2 separate regions of the Homo sapiens genome follow, and region 2 is linked to region 1. Evidence: promoter capture Hi-C in human tissues and cell types (Jung and others, 2019). All regions are on one chromosome and are shown on one strand. The core of a region is centred on a gene start or on the middle of the fragment in contact, and the rest is flanking DNA. Distances in the headings are between cores, read along the strand shown.

Region 1 (6,988 bases), core at 3,636-6,135:
GTCAAACAAAAAGGAAGATAAATAATTGGCAAAACATCTGACTTGAGAAGAAAGCTGAAAGTGTGAACCATGCCTGACTTGGAGGAGCGGTTTATAATCTTGACTTAACCATCATTCTGGAACCACTTAGGTAGTGTTTTGGCGGTTGCCTATACCCGGCTCATAATGCAGGCTTTCTTTTTCTGAATAATCAGATCACTTATAGGCAGAACCATTCATTTATGTATTAAACAAATAACTACTGAGTGCCTTCTATGGCTCAGGTAATATTGTTCTATGTTGTTTAAGAGCATGGTAGTGAAAAAGACACAGCCTCTGACTTCAGAGGAGAGTGAAAGAGACAAAAGCAAAACAGCCCAATAACTTTATAATACAGAACCTTATGTAAAACAACAAGGGGAGACTGGAAATAAGAAAGCTCAACAAAATGCACTTAACCATAAAAAACTTGTTTTGCCCTTGGTCTCATGTCTTAATCTTCCCCAATGTGACTGTAAGCTCCTTGAAGGCAGAAACCACCTTTAACATGTCTGCATACTCCCTAGTACCCAGCTCAATGACATGTCCACAATAACCCATCACTAAATATTTGTTAACAGCTTGACTGATCAATTTCACTGAAACGAAACGAGGCTATGGAGGTAAAAGTGTGTTTGCATTATTTTTTGCCTTCCATGGAGGTTTTTGGTTGTTCATCTTTGCGTTAACTCATCACCACCAATAAATAAGGATGTCTGATGTACCATTTAATGCTTGCTAAACTTATGGGTAGGAAAAATTTTGAGCTTCTATTTCTTGACATGCAAGAGCTCTGTGGTGACAATTCTTCTCTGCTAGCTAGTGGTGCAATGGACTAAGAAGGGAGTTTGGCTCTGCCACTTAATAGGTATTAATCTCTTGGGAACTTTGATTCCTCAGCTCGAAGTAAGATCAGTGTTCCCTTCCACCTTACTCAGCAGGCGCACTTTTGTTTTATAACTAGTTTGGGTGCAGGGGGAGATGTAACACCCTATTTATAAATGGATGGAATGTGGCATGGCATCTTCTTGCTTTGCTTTTGTTGTTCCACAGTAAATTCCCAATACTTATGGGGTTTTAGTCCCAGTGAATTATTTCCCTCAAAAACCAGGCAGATAATAATGAACCACTTTCTTGCACTTTCCATCAAGACAGCTCTTTGTGAGTTCTAAATGTTCTATCTAGATTCAAAGAAGCTGGTTTCTTCATGAGTGGTTGGAATAAGACTTTTCTTGGAAGCTACTGAATATGGATTAGTTGGATTGTTTCATAGGAAATAAAAAGCAGGCTCTAGGGTAACTACTTCAGCACTTAATTGGGTTAGCAAAGAGCCGCAAATGAGAGATTTTCCCGTAGGAGGGAAAGGATGTTTATAGCTTCCACCCCCTTAGGTGATGCATTTTAACCTAAACATTACTCTTCCAATGCAGCCTTTAATTTAGTAAGCATTACAAGAATCTATTAGAGCAGAAAACGTCAGGTTGAAAAATTAACACATCACCGGAGTTAATAAGAACCCAGCCTCTTATTAGATACAAATGGAGAGCCCTCCAACTGCCCAACAGACTGTTGAAGTCATGTTTGTTGCAGCTCCAAAGTAGTTGAATCTTTACTGCTCAGAGGCTGGACCAAGGAAACTGCCCAGGCACTCAAGCCAGAGTTAGCAGGGGCCCATGGCCTACACTTTATTCAGGTGTCCCTATCTTTTCCTCTCAGAAATGCTGTGCATGTCACAGGGTGGATATCCCTCTGCCTGGGACTCCCTCGGGAAGTGTTTTCTGTAACAAAGACAAACATGCCATGCCTGTCACCAGGGGCAGATTGTGGACTGTGTAAACCACTCCAGGAGAGGGAGGCTGAGGGGCTCCAGGCCATTCAGATTTAGCTCTAAGTTATGGTCTTTGTTGTCTTTCCACATTCAGACTGAAATGTGATTCCCCTAGCTTTCTTTTTTGGAAAATACTGGTGATGAGTTCCACGACTAGAAAGAAAAGCTGTTGACAGAAAAAGCTTCTGATAGGGAAGGGGCTTCTTCATGTGTTCTCAAAGGAGACAATTGCTTCAAGCAAGCTGAGGCAGGATGCCAGGTCTAGGAATAAGAGGTCCAGATCACAAAATGGTCATCTTTAACTATGGATTAGGCTGGGCGTGAAGCAGTTTCCTCTGCAAGAGCAGTACCATGCACACAGAGTTTAGGGCCAGGCAGACATGCATGAGTTCTTCTCTACGACTTACTGTGTAATCTTGGGCAAACTGCTTGGCCTCTCAGAGCATCAGTTTCTGCAAGTTGTGAGAAATAAATAAAATTAAGAATGTAAGGCATGTAACACAGTGTCTGAAAGTAAGAGTTCTATATGAGTGGTTTGTTATTGATTTGAAAACAGTATTCCTTCACCCAGAACAAATGATGTTCCTTGTGTGCCAGGCCCTGTATGAGGGACAGGTCCTCCTCCTTGACCTCAGGGAGTTCACTGTTTAATAAACCATGTAACCATATCTTCAGCACAAAGCACACCCCACCACCACCACTCTTCCCTAGAAGAAGGGCCAATTGCATACTAACTACACTTTGTTGAGTAGCTACGAGTCTTGCAGGTCATCCCCCTTTGAGTAGCCCTCCAGACTCAGCCACTTCTACCTTCAATTCACCCACAATTCTCTATCTGTGCACTTAGCAAACTAAGTTATTGTTGTTTGTTAATCCTTTGTCTCCTCCTGTGAGATCCTAAAGGATGAGGATTATCTATTCATTTGATCTGTTCATCTGATTATATATTCATCTCTGTAACCCAAATGATTAATAGATCATTTGATCTCTACATCTGATCGTTTATTCATCTCTGTAGGCCAAGGGTTTTATGCATTACTCAGCACAGGCACACAGAGATTCAATCCTATTGCTGAGTACATTGATTTCCAGCTGGGAATTTTTTCTGGGAAAATAGCCCTGCCTTCCATCTTTGAAGAGCCTCTTCTGGGCCCTGGTTTGGTTGGTCTTGTCATTTTCTATTACTGTGGTTCTAGCCTCAGTTTCCTAATCTCTATAAGGAGCTAACGGAACCTCCTTCACTGGGAGTTTATGATGATGACTGGAGACAATGCAGCTTCTCCGTGTCCAACACAGTTCTAGGCACAGAGCCAAATACCAAAAAAAAGTTGATTCCATTTTTGCCCTCAGTCAAGTCTCGTTGCCAATATAAGAAGACTAAAAATACAAGACAGAATATGAGTGTCACATGAGTGGCACAGACATTCTTCCAACTTGCATCTAGCCTCTGCCATATGCCACAGAATTGGCTGAAATGGGAGGATAAAAACATGCATAAAACAGTGGCAAGTGTTGGACAAAAAGATCTCAGGAAGAGGGTGAAAAGCCTTTTACCCAGATCCTCATTCCGGGGCTGCTGGAGCTGTCTTTAGCACCAGGCTGGAAAGCAGGAGGCTGTCCCATAATTGATCTCCCCTAGCTGTTTTGGAAACACATACACACACACACACACACACACACACACACACACACACCCCAATCACCAAGTTCTTCAGCATTTATTATGTGTCAGACACTGCTAAATGATTTACAGGTATTATCTCACTGAACTCTTAGAACAACTGTGTGAGGTGGATATGAACTTCCCCACTTTACAGCCGGCCACTTTGAGGCTCAGAGAGGCACCATAGCTTCAACACAGTCAAGCAACAAGTAAACGGTGGAGGAATCCACCTGCTGGGAGTTTACTGGCCGACTGGAAAGCAGAGAGAGGGTGGACCAGCACAAAGCCGCGGGGGGCTGGTAATGAGACAGGAAAGTTGGGTTCAAACCTGGGTCACATGATCCCCAGATCCCTAGGAGCCGAAGCAGAAGCAAAGAAAAAAAGGGGTGCAGCCTGGTGGGGAGGGGGTGCCCGGGAGGCCGGGAGAGAGGAGTCACGGTGGTTGTGCGCCTTCCTCGTCCCCAGTGCACAGGTCAAGCCTCTCCCCTCCCGCCCTCTCACCCTCCCAACCTTATTTAGAAACCGTGTCCCCGAGACAGGAAGGGCGGCGGGCCGAGAAGCACGGAGAGTCCCGGTCTCATTTCCTTTCGAATCCCCCTGTGGAATTTCATTTCATACGGTGAGGAAATCAGAGCGCGAGACCGTCGGCGGGTCTGCAGCTCCGCAGCTCTGGGGCGCCTCCCCGCTGGCGGCTGGAGGTGGGCGGCTCCCTGCGCAGGTCGGGCGAGTCTGGGGGCGGGGAGAGGCCGGGCCCCGATCGCCGCTGGTCCGGAGTGAAAATAGCTGTGGACTCACGCAGTACCAGGCACCATGCTAAGCCTTCTACACTTTATCTCTAATCCTCCCAAGTGACTTTACAGAGGAGACTGACGCCGAGGGGTTGAGCAATTTGCTCAAGGTCACACAACCGGGACTGAAAGCCACAATCGGTGTAAATCCAAATCCCCAATTCTTTGTGTACGTTTCTCTGCCTGACGGGGAGGTGGCCACCGGCCTAGGTTACAGCTGAAAGGAGACAGGAAGGAAAGGGGGCAGATGGAACAGGGCGCACTTCTCACCTGCAGAAGGGGGCAGGACGGCGTGGCTGGAGCCACTGGGCTGCGTCCCTGCTTGGCCCCTGCGCGCCTAGATCCGGGTGGGAGGAAAGCAAGAGCCGGGAGGCGGGCGGGGCGGGGCGCTAGGGGAGGGAGGGAGGGAGGGGCGGCCGGAGGAGGGGGCCGGAGGGCGGGGGCCTGACTCCTCCTGCGGGAGAGCGGCCCCGCCCCGCCGCCTCGCCCCTAGCTGCCCACCGCGCCCGGCCATTGGAGAGGCCCGCTGTCCGTCCCGCCCCGCCGCCGCGCCGCGAGCCTCCAGCGCCGCGCAGGGCTCCGGCGGTGAGAGCTGCGCAGCGCTGGCTGCTGGCTGGCCTCGCGGAGACGCCGAACGGACGCGGCCGGCGCCGGCTTGTGGGCTCGCCGCCTGCAGCCATGACCCTCGCAGCCTGTCCCTCGGCCTCGGCCCGGGACGTCTAAAATCCCACACAGTCGCGCGCAGCTGCTGGAGAGCCGGCCGCTGCCCCCTCGTCGCCGCATCACACTCCCGTCCCGGGAGCTGGGAGCAGCGCGGGCAGCCGGCGCCCCCGTGCAAACTGGGGGTGTCTGCCAGAGCAGCCCCAGCCGCTGCCGCTGCTACCCCCGATGCTGGCCATGGCCTGGCGGGGCGCAGGGCCGAGCGTCCCGGGGGCGCCCGGGGGCGTCGGTCTCAGTCTGGGGTTGCTCCTGCAGTTGCTGCTGCTCCTGGGGCCGGCGCGGGGCTTCGGGGACGAGGAAGAGCGGCGCTGCGACCCCATCCGCATCTCCATGTGCCAGAACCTCGGCTACAACGTGACCAAGATGCCCAACCTGGTTGGGCACGAGCTGCAGACGGACGCCGAGCTGCAGCTGACAACTTTCACACCGCTCATCCAGTACGGCTGCTCCAGCCAGCTGCAGGTGGGCGCCCCCACCCCCACCCCTGGCGGGACCCCTTGGGGAGGGACGCTCCAAACTAACTTTGCAGAGCCCATGCCAAGTTGATCATCCTAGCCCGAAGGAGACAGCTCTCCTGGAAAAGTGATTTCCATCCCCACCCCCACTTTCTCAGGGACTGGAAGCCAAAACGTTGTGTAAGTCATCTGGCCTGGGAAAGAACCCACTCTTACACCCCGCCCTTCCGTTTTTCTCTCTTGCCCACCCATGTCTGGCCCAGACCCCTAACCCCAGTGGAGCTGAGGGTTATCTCTGCCAAGGATTCTGGCCGCCACTGCTCGGTGGGCGAGTGGGAGGGAGCCAGCTGCAGCTAAGACTTGGAGGGAGTGATAAGGAGACCATCCTTCACCGAACTTCCTTCTCCCCACTATTTTTGGGGTGTTATTAAATGAAACACTACTGCACCTTTTTCTGCTGAATAGCCCCTTCTCACGACGTCCCGCAGCGTTTTAGAGGTCATGCATGAAGGAGTGGTTGGGTTGGCTTGAGTTCTTTCTTATCCTCACAGTTGAAGGCACGTTTAATGCTTGGAGGGTGAGAAGAAGCTGCAGGAAGGTGGTTGGTATATTGGAAGAAATTTTTTTGCAGTCATTAAAAAATGTAAAGCATATCTAATGATAGAGAAAATGTTTATTCCACAGTAATAAGAATTTGCATATACAGGGTGATTATAATCCTGCAAAATAAAAAATTTATTGGGATAATAAAAGACTGACAGGAAAATTTTTAAAGTGTTAACATTGGTTATGTTTGGGTTGGTGAGGCTGGGTGATTTTTAGAAATTTAGAAAAGAGAGAAGTTGTGGGAAAAAGTAGACGTTAGTTGTCCAGGCTTCAGAAATCTGGTTTCTGGCCGGGCGCAGTGGCTCACGCCTGTAATCCCAGCACTTTGGGAGGCCGAGGCAGGTGGCTCACGAGGTTAGGAGTTCGAGACCAGCCTGACCAACATGGCGAAATCCTGTCTCTACTAAAAGTACAAAAATTAGCCGGGCGTGGTGGCGTGCGCCTGTAATCCCAGCTACTCAGGAGGCTGAGGCAGGAGAATCGCTTGAACCCAGGAGGCAGAGGTTGCAGTGAGCGGGGATTGCACCATTGCACTCTAGCCTGGGCCACAGGAGCGAAACTCCGTATCAAAAAAAAAAAGAAAAGAAAAGAAATCTGTGGTTCTGGCTGTAACTTCTGAGAGATAATAAACAGACATACAGCTTACTTACTAGGTGCATGTTTTTACATAGGTCATTTTAAAACTTGGTTTGTGGTTTTGGAAAGATGGTGGGGATTAGACCTGTTGCTGCTAAAATATCCCTTTGGAAGTTTCAGAACTTTAGAACTAGGTTATAAAAGCTTAAGAAATGATCCTCCAGCTCTCAGTTTGGAAACAGCACATATCCTGACATCAGTGGCAATTTGTTGGAGAAACAGCTTTTGCAGGGATATATATTTTTAATTACATGTATCCTGGGGAAAGCGGCCA
Region 2 (6,776 bases), core at 2,313-4,812, 1.4 Mb before region 1:
ATTGGCAGTGCCCTCATGAATGGATGAATCTATCATGGGTTAATAGATTAATGGATTATGGAATTATCAAGGATTAGTTATCATGAGGGTGGGTCTGTAATAAGCACTAGTTTGGCCATCTCTCATGACCCCCTTTGCCACGTGATACCCTGTACTACCTTGGGATTCTGCAAAGAGTCTCAACCAGCAAGAAGGGCCCCCTTCGATGGGGCCTCTTGACCTTGGACTTACCTGTCTCTAGAACTATAAAAAATAATTTTCTTTGTTTTAAATTACCGAGTCTCAGGTACAGTTCTAGCAACAGAAAACAGACTAAGACAGATGCTGATGTCCCTGGTCCTAGGCTACACTTTGAGAACCACTGCCAAGTAATGCTGCCTCTCTGTAAACCTGCTTTTAATGATGGGAGCCTACTGACAGACCATGTTTTGCACATAAGCTCACTTTTGTTTTATATAATTTTAACATATACTGAATTTTTGGGAATGCAACCTCTTGATAAACCTTCAACAGAAAATTCTACTTTGTTCTCCTGGGAATTTGACCAAGAATTGTCCAACATCAACAACTTTGGTATGGTGTTTGAGTGATTAATTGATAAGGTATTTGAGTTATAACTCATCAGAAATCATTTGTGCTCTCAGAAAAAAGTTCCTATCACATTTACCACGATTCTACAATTTTACATAGAAGTGAAACCACCTTTGCAAAAATTACAACTGTGAAAGAAATCAGACCTAATCGACTCCATCTTGCTTCTAATCTTTAAGCTGTCCTTTTTCATTCCTGGGCATAGGTGGAACAAACTTTGGGAAGTAATTCAGTTCATGGTTTGACTCTGAAACAAAATTGATAATAGCCCTTTCCCAAAAAGACTCCCTTCTTGCCTGGGGACCAGTCTGCCTTCGCAGGACTAACAAATTAGCTACAAGATTAGAAATTACAGTTTAGGGGTCATGTGGCCTCTGGCTCCAAGAGTCTGCACCCTCCCACCCTCCAAGTTGCTTCTGGGGATAACATCTCTATTGTAAAATCTAAGATCAGTGCTTGAGATATTTTACAGACCCTGCACTCCATAGATCAGCTGACACCACTGAGACCAGCAATCTGGCTCAACCATATCTGCCATCCCACCCAGGAACAGAAGATAGCAAGAAAAACTCACTTAGACCCCCTATGATTCCATCTCCAACCTAACCAATCAGCACTCCCCACTTCCCAAGCCCCTACCCACCAAATTATCTTTGAAAACTCTGATCCCTGAATGCTCGGGGAGACTGATTTGAGTGATAATAAAACTCCCGTCTCCCCCACAGCCGGCTCTGTATGAATTACTCTTCCTCCATTGCAATTCCCCTGTCTTGATAAATTGGCTCTGTCTAGGCAGCAGGCCAGGTGAATCCATTGGGTGGTTACAGAAGTGTGAAGAGCAAGTATCTGAGTGCCTCATTATGTTTTCCAACACAGTCATACTTGAACATTTTACATGATGGGATATAACTTATTATACTAGAAATATATTTAAAATATCTGATTTCTTCTTTATATTACATTTGGCATTACATTTCTTTTTATTAAGTGTGTAAGCAGTTTATATATTAATTTCATTTCAGAAAGTAAAGGATTTGGGGTCTGATCAGTTTGAGAATCAATTTTTTGTGTGTGCGTGGAATGGAGAGTTAGTAGTTATTTTTGAGAGAGAACAGTATGGGAATTATTAGATTAGTAGAAATAAACTAAACTGAAAATCAATGTGCCTGAGGTTCATTCTTAAATCTTACTAAGTGGCAATATGACATTCAGCAAGTGATTTAACTCTCTGAATCTCCATTTCCCAATTTTAAAATGAATCCATTAGACTAAGAGGTCCACAAGATCTTTTTCTATTATTCAATCATTGAATAAAGACTGTTTTAAACTTTCTTTACAATTAAGTGTGTTGCTTTGATTACATTCATCAAAGAAATTTCCACCTAAACTGGCTCTTCAATATTGATGACCTAATACAAATTTAATGTTTTAACAATCAGTAACACACCTTCCTAGAGATTCAGGAAGGGAAGCTTAATCTGTCAGGGTATCTTTAAATAAATAGTGTGTTAGCTTAATTATACAATGTCAGCTTTCAATTCTAAGAAGGTATATAAAACCTAAAAGCAAGGTGTTCCCCAACCCCCCGCCACCAACCCCGCCCCAGGCTTTGGAAATTTGTGCCCCCATTGAAGAGTATTTTCACCTCTGAACTTTCAAGGACAACTCCTTTTGCCTCATTGAAACTGGCTTTCAAGCTTGGCAACCAAGATAAGAATATTAAGTACACTTATTTTAACACTCAAGGACACTTTCTGAATAAACCAGAATCTAGGGAGATATAAGTGAATAATTTGGACCTGCTCTCTTTGAATGTTTATAATCTGGTGGAAAAAAAATGGACATATGAATATTGATTTGTGACCAGTGCAAAGGGGGCAAAAATTCATATCCCAAAGAAAACGGGGACACATCAGGTCTGTCTTGTTCATCACTGTGTCCACAGGGCCTGACACCTAGTAGGCTCAGTGGGAGAAAGGAGCCCCAATTACCAACAAAAGCCAGGAAAGAACGGGAGGCTCTTACGGAAAAGGGTGATACTTAAACTGAGCAAGGAGGCACCTGGAAATAGTGCCACCTAATAATTTTTGGCGATCAGACTGACACACTAGAACGGTTCATAAGACCAGCCTTCTCCCATTGGCTAGCTTCCTTCCTCACCCTTCTCACCCTGGGCAAGCCGCTTCCTCTCTCTGGGCCTCTTGCTTTTCCTCTGTAACATAAAAGGGGTTGAGCAATATCATCTCTGAGAGCGCCATGTGTGTGCGTGCCAGAGGGAAAACCCCCACAACGCTAATACATCAAAACTGCAGGTTTGCACAAAAACTGAATTCTGCTGAATGCAAACAGGCAAACAGCATTTACCAGGAAACAAAACAAAATCAAGCACATAAAAAAGTAGGAAGAGTTGGAAAACGGAAGGAAGATAAGTTCTCAAACAGCTGGAATAGTTGATGTTAGCTAGCGAAGTTTTTCAGAGGAAAAAACAAGAAGTTGGTTATGAGGCAAGTGGACCTGAGAAAAAAGACTAAAGGGGAAGAATAGCAAGTAAAACAGAACTCCACTTGCTAGATCTCTCCCTCTGTCGCGCTCTTTCACCTGACCCACTCCCTTATTCCCCCCACACCCTTTCCTTCTCTCCCTACGTTACCGCACAGGAACGAAGTCTGGGTCATGTGCGGACCGCTTGTGGCTCTTAAATCCTCTTTTTGTCACCCTGGCCGTGCAAAATTTTGAAACGTCCCTCGGCAAAAAAAATAAAAATAAAAAAAAAAAATCTGTCCCTGGCCTCTTCCCTAGTTCTGGGTCCAGTTGCAGCCAAGTGAGGGGCAGCGCGCGCTCCCAAGTCCCCGTTTCAGAGACGCGCACGCGCCTGGCGCCCAACCCCCAATCCCCTGCTGCTCAGTGACCCCGCCCACGGGTTTCCGGGCCGGCGTAGCTATTTCAAGGCGCGCGCCTCGTGGTGGACTCACCGCTAGCCCGCAGCGCTCGGCTTCCTGGTAATTCTTCACCTCTTTTCTCAGCTCCCTGCAGCATGGGTGCTGGGCCCTCCTTGCTGCTCGCCGCCCTCCTGCTGCTTCTCTCCGGCGACGGCGCCGTGCGCTGCGACACACCTGCCAACTGCACCTATCTTGACCTGCTGGGCACCTGGGTCTTCCAGGTGGGCTCCAGCGGTTCCCAGCGCGATGTCAACTGCTCGGTTATGGGTAAGCCGCCGGCTCGGCAGTCCTCCGGGTCGTCCTTTCTGCCCTTGAGCCCCTAACGCAGCGCCACGCCAACTACCGCTTCCCCCCAGGCAGACGCTTGTGGGTGGCCAGAGCATCTTGACTGGATTCGGGGACCCTTGGGGACCTTCTTCCCCGCCAGGCTCGCGAAGTTAAAGTTCATCTGCTGAGAACTTCTAACTCCACACTTTCTTGGTTATCTTGGGGACTCAACACTTTGATCAAGAACTTTTTTATTCCTCCCGCTTAATTTTGTTTGCTTTGAGAGAGACTTGGGAACTGCAATCGTTTGGTTCTCCAGTCCGATCTGGTAGCGTTATTTTTAAAATTTATTTTTATTTTTTATTACTATTTTACTAGTGAAGATAGATGAGCTCAGAGACTCTCGAGGATATAGCATGAAGTTTTCTCTTTTTGTTAGATGGTGGGAAAGGGACTTTCTGCCCAGCGATTTTGGTTTGAGCGGGTGTTGATGAGTACTAGAAAACGGCTAGTACCACTCTGCATTGTTTCATGCATTGCAAGGAGGTAAAAATTTTTTAAAAAATTAATAACAAAGAAAACTTAACTCTGAACCTAGTAATTAGAAATGCCCAGAGTCTGCACAATGTTTGGCTCATGGAAGGCTCTCAATAAATACCTAGTGTTTGAACATACTGGAGATATTCCATATGCCTTCAGATAACATGGTTACCCCTAGAACAAAGAACCTAGTGAAGGGGGTGGGGTGGAAAAAAGACAATCACTAGTTAGAAGAGTCACACTGTGGTCTACCCAAACCCTCTTACAGCCTGTGACTTCTGCAGAGTCAGTAAAAAATCAGCTATAATTTTCTTGTCAACAGAACAAAGATTAAGTCATTTGTTACTAAAGAAATACCTTTTTAACTGACTGTATAGCATTTCATAATCCTGAACATTGTAACTTTTTTTTTTTTTTTTTTGAGAATGGAGTCTTGCTCTGTCACCCAGGCTGTAGTTCAGTGGCGGGATCTCGGCTCACTGCAACCTCCGCCTCCCGGGTTTAAGCGATTCTCCTGCCTCAGTCTCCCGAGTAGCTAGGATTACGGGCACATGCCACCACGCCCGGCTAATATTTTGTATTTTTAGTAGAGACGGGTTTCACTGTGTTAGCCAGGATGGTCTCCATCTCCTGACCTCGTGATCCGCCCGCCTCGGCCTCCCAAAGTACTGGGATTACAGGCGGGAGTCACCACGCCTGGCCTTTTTTTTTTTTTTTTTTTTAAATTTGAGTTTGAAGGTTGGGGCAGAAAGAGATCAGGATTTGCACTGCCCTGTCACATGCAATCTCCCATGTCAGAGCATTACTCTCAAACATGGAAAAACTTTAAAATACACAACTCTCCAGATGGACACAGCTGAATCATTTTCAGGAAGGCTCTGCCTATAAAATTACCTTTGGCCTTAATTCAGTAATTAAAGGCACCCACAGGTCTGAGCCCTCATCTATGAAGGTTAAACGTATCATTCCTATCAGCACTAATTGGTTTTATAGGATACAGACCTCTAGTTTGCTGAATAAACTTTGGAAGGATTCAGATTATGAGGTTCTAAACTGTAGAGCCTTTGAGGAGAAAGGTACCCCATTTCTTCTCCGAATAGATCATTTTGTGTCTTCTCCTGGGCTTAGCACATTGTCTTCCTTAGGATCTGATAGTCTGTTTATTTATCTTTTTGTTGTCATACCTTTTATTCTTGCATTTCCCACTTTTGACTAGCATTTTGCCTTTTCTCCGTTTCTGGAAGCCTGTAATTTTCAACATTCCCCATTTCTCCTTTTGTTCAGTGGAAAAATTTCTTCAGTGTTGGGATGCTCTGGAAAGGTACTGTAGTTTTGGGGGTCTCCCTGCCTGCTGGGCTGCATAGCATATCTCTCTTTTTTGAGACAAGGTCTCACTGTGTTGCCCAGGTTGGAATGCAGTTGTGCAATCATAGCTCACTGCAGCCTCCAACTCCTGGGCTCAAGCAATCCTTCCACCTCAGCTTCAGCCGCTCAAATAGCTGGGACTACAGGCAATGCACCACCATAACCAGCGAATTTTTAAAAATTATTTTTGTAGAGACAGGGTCTCACTATGTTGCCCAAACTAGTCTTGAAGTTCTGACCTCAGCCCCGCAAAGTGCTAGGATTACAGGCGTGAGCCACTGCTTCTGCTTGCATTATCTCAAATTTTTAGAGCCTAACTTCACAGTCTTGCCTCGGAGCAGGAACTGTTTGAGGCAACAAGATGGAGCCTCTGGTTTCTTCACTAGGCAGACTGTGCTCAAACTGGGTAGCATGAAAGGAAAGCAGCACAATTAAAATTGAAATTGGGGGATTCTTTCCCCTATTGAAATCCAAATAATTTTCCTTTATTGTGCTTTTTTTTTTTTTCTTTAGGACCACAAGAAAAAAAAGTAGTGGTGTACCTTCAGAAGCTGGATACAGCATATGATGACCTTGGCAATTCTGGCCATTTCACCATCATTTACAACCAAGGCTTTGAGATTGTGTTGAATGACTACAAGTGGTTTGCCTTTTTTAAGGTTAGTTTTGTTGGAAGTTGGATTTACATTTTCAATGATTTGATATCTGAAACCTCTTCTGATTAGTAGACCCTCAGAATTTTAATTTTAGATTAAGAAGATGACCGGAATTGACACCACTCTTCCCAAGAGTAGTAGTAGTTGGTATAATTTTGCCACTTTATTTAAAATTATGATTTTAGTAGGTTTACAAAATACCAGTGCTACATTTGAATATGTATAAATTATGTTTAAAATTTACATTTTGGTAAGTATGACTAAATTCTTAATTTATTTTCCTTATTACTACCACTTTATTTCTAAATGTTGCCATAGTCATTTGGCTTTGTTCTAAATCTGTAGGAAAGATAGAGAGATTACACATTTTGTTTTCTTGCAGTTACTATGCTGTCCTTCCTATCACTACCTGTTGGCT

What was found. The method cuts DNA at HindIII sites, captures the fragments that hold promoters and counts their contacts. A contact is called where the count stands out against the background at its distance.
Region 2: the fragment with the promoter of CTSC here is called in contact with the fragment with the promoter of FZD4 in region 1 in 1 of the 25 tissues and cell types used here (IMR-90 fibroblasts).

The regions. Positions count from the first base shown.
Region 1 is chr11:86,953,292-86,960,279 of GRCh38, reverse strand. FZD4 (frizzled class receptor 4) reads left to right here and starts at 4,885. Exons shown (of 2, transcript NM_012193.4): 1 at 4,885-5,479. The coding sequence starts at 5,195. FZD4-DT (FZD4 divergent transcript) reads right to left here and starts at 4,659. Exons shown (of 3, transcript NR_038905.1): 1 at 4,568-4,659; 2 at 2,254-2,298. RefSeq lists silencers at 4,158-4,307, 4,658-5,027, 5,158-5,207. The HindIII fragment of the contact is 8,131 bases long and covers 599-6,988 here.
Region 2 is chr11:88,334,522-88,341,297 of GRCh38, reverse strand. It overlaps CTSC (cathepsin C), which reads left to right and starts at 3,562. Exons shown (of 7, transcript NM_001814.6): 1 at 3,562-3,797; 2 at 6,216-6,361. The coding sequence starts at 3,626. It overlaps LOC101929174 (a long non-coding RNA gene), which reads right to left and starts at 3,414. Exons shown (of 5, transcript NR_188511.1): 1 at 3,242-3,414. RefSeq lists an enhancer at 3,567-3,846. The HindIII fragment of the contact is 12,694 bases long and covers 297-6,776 here.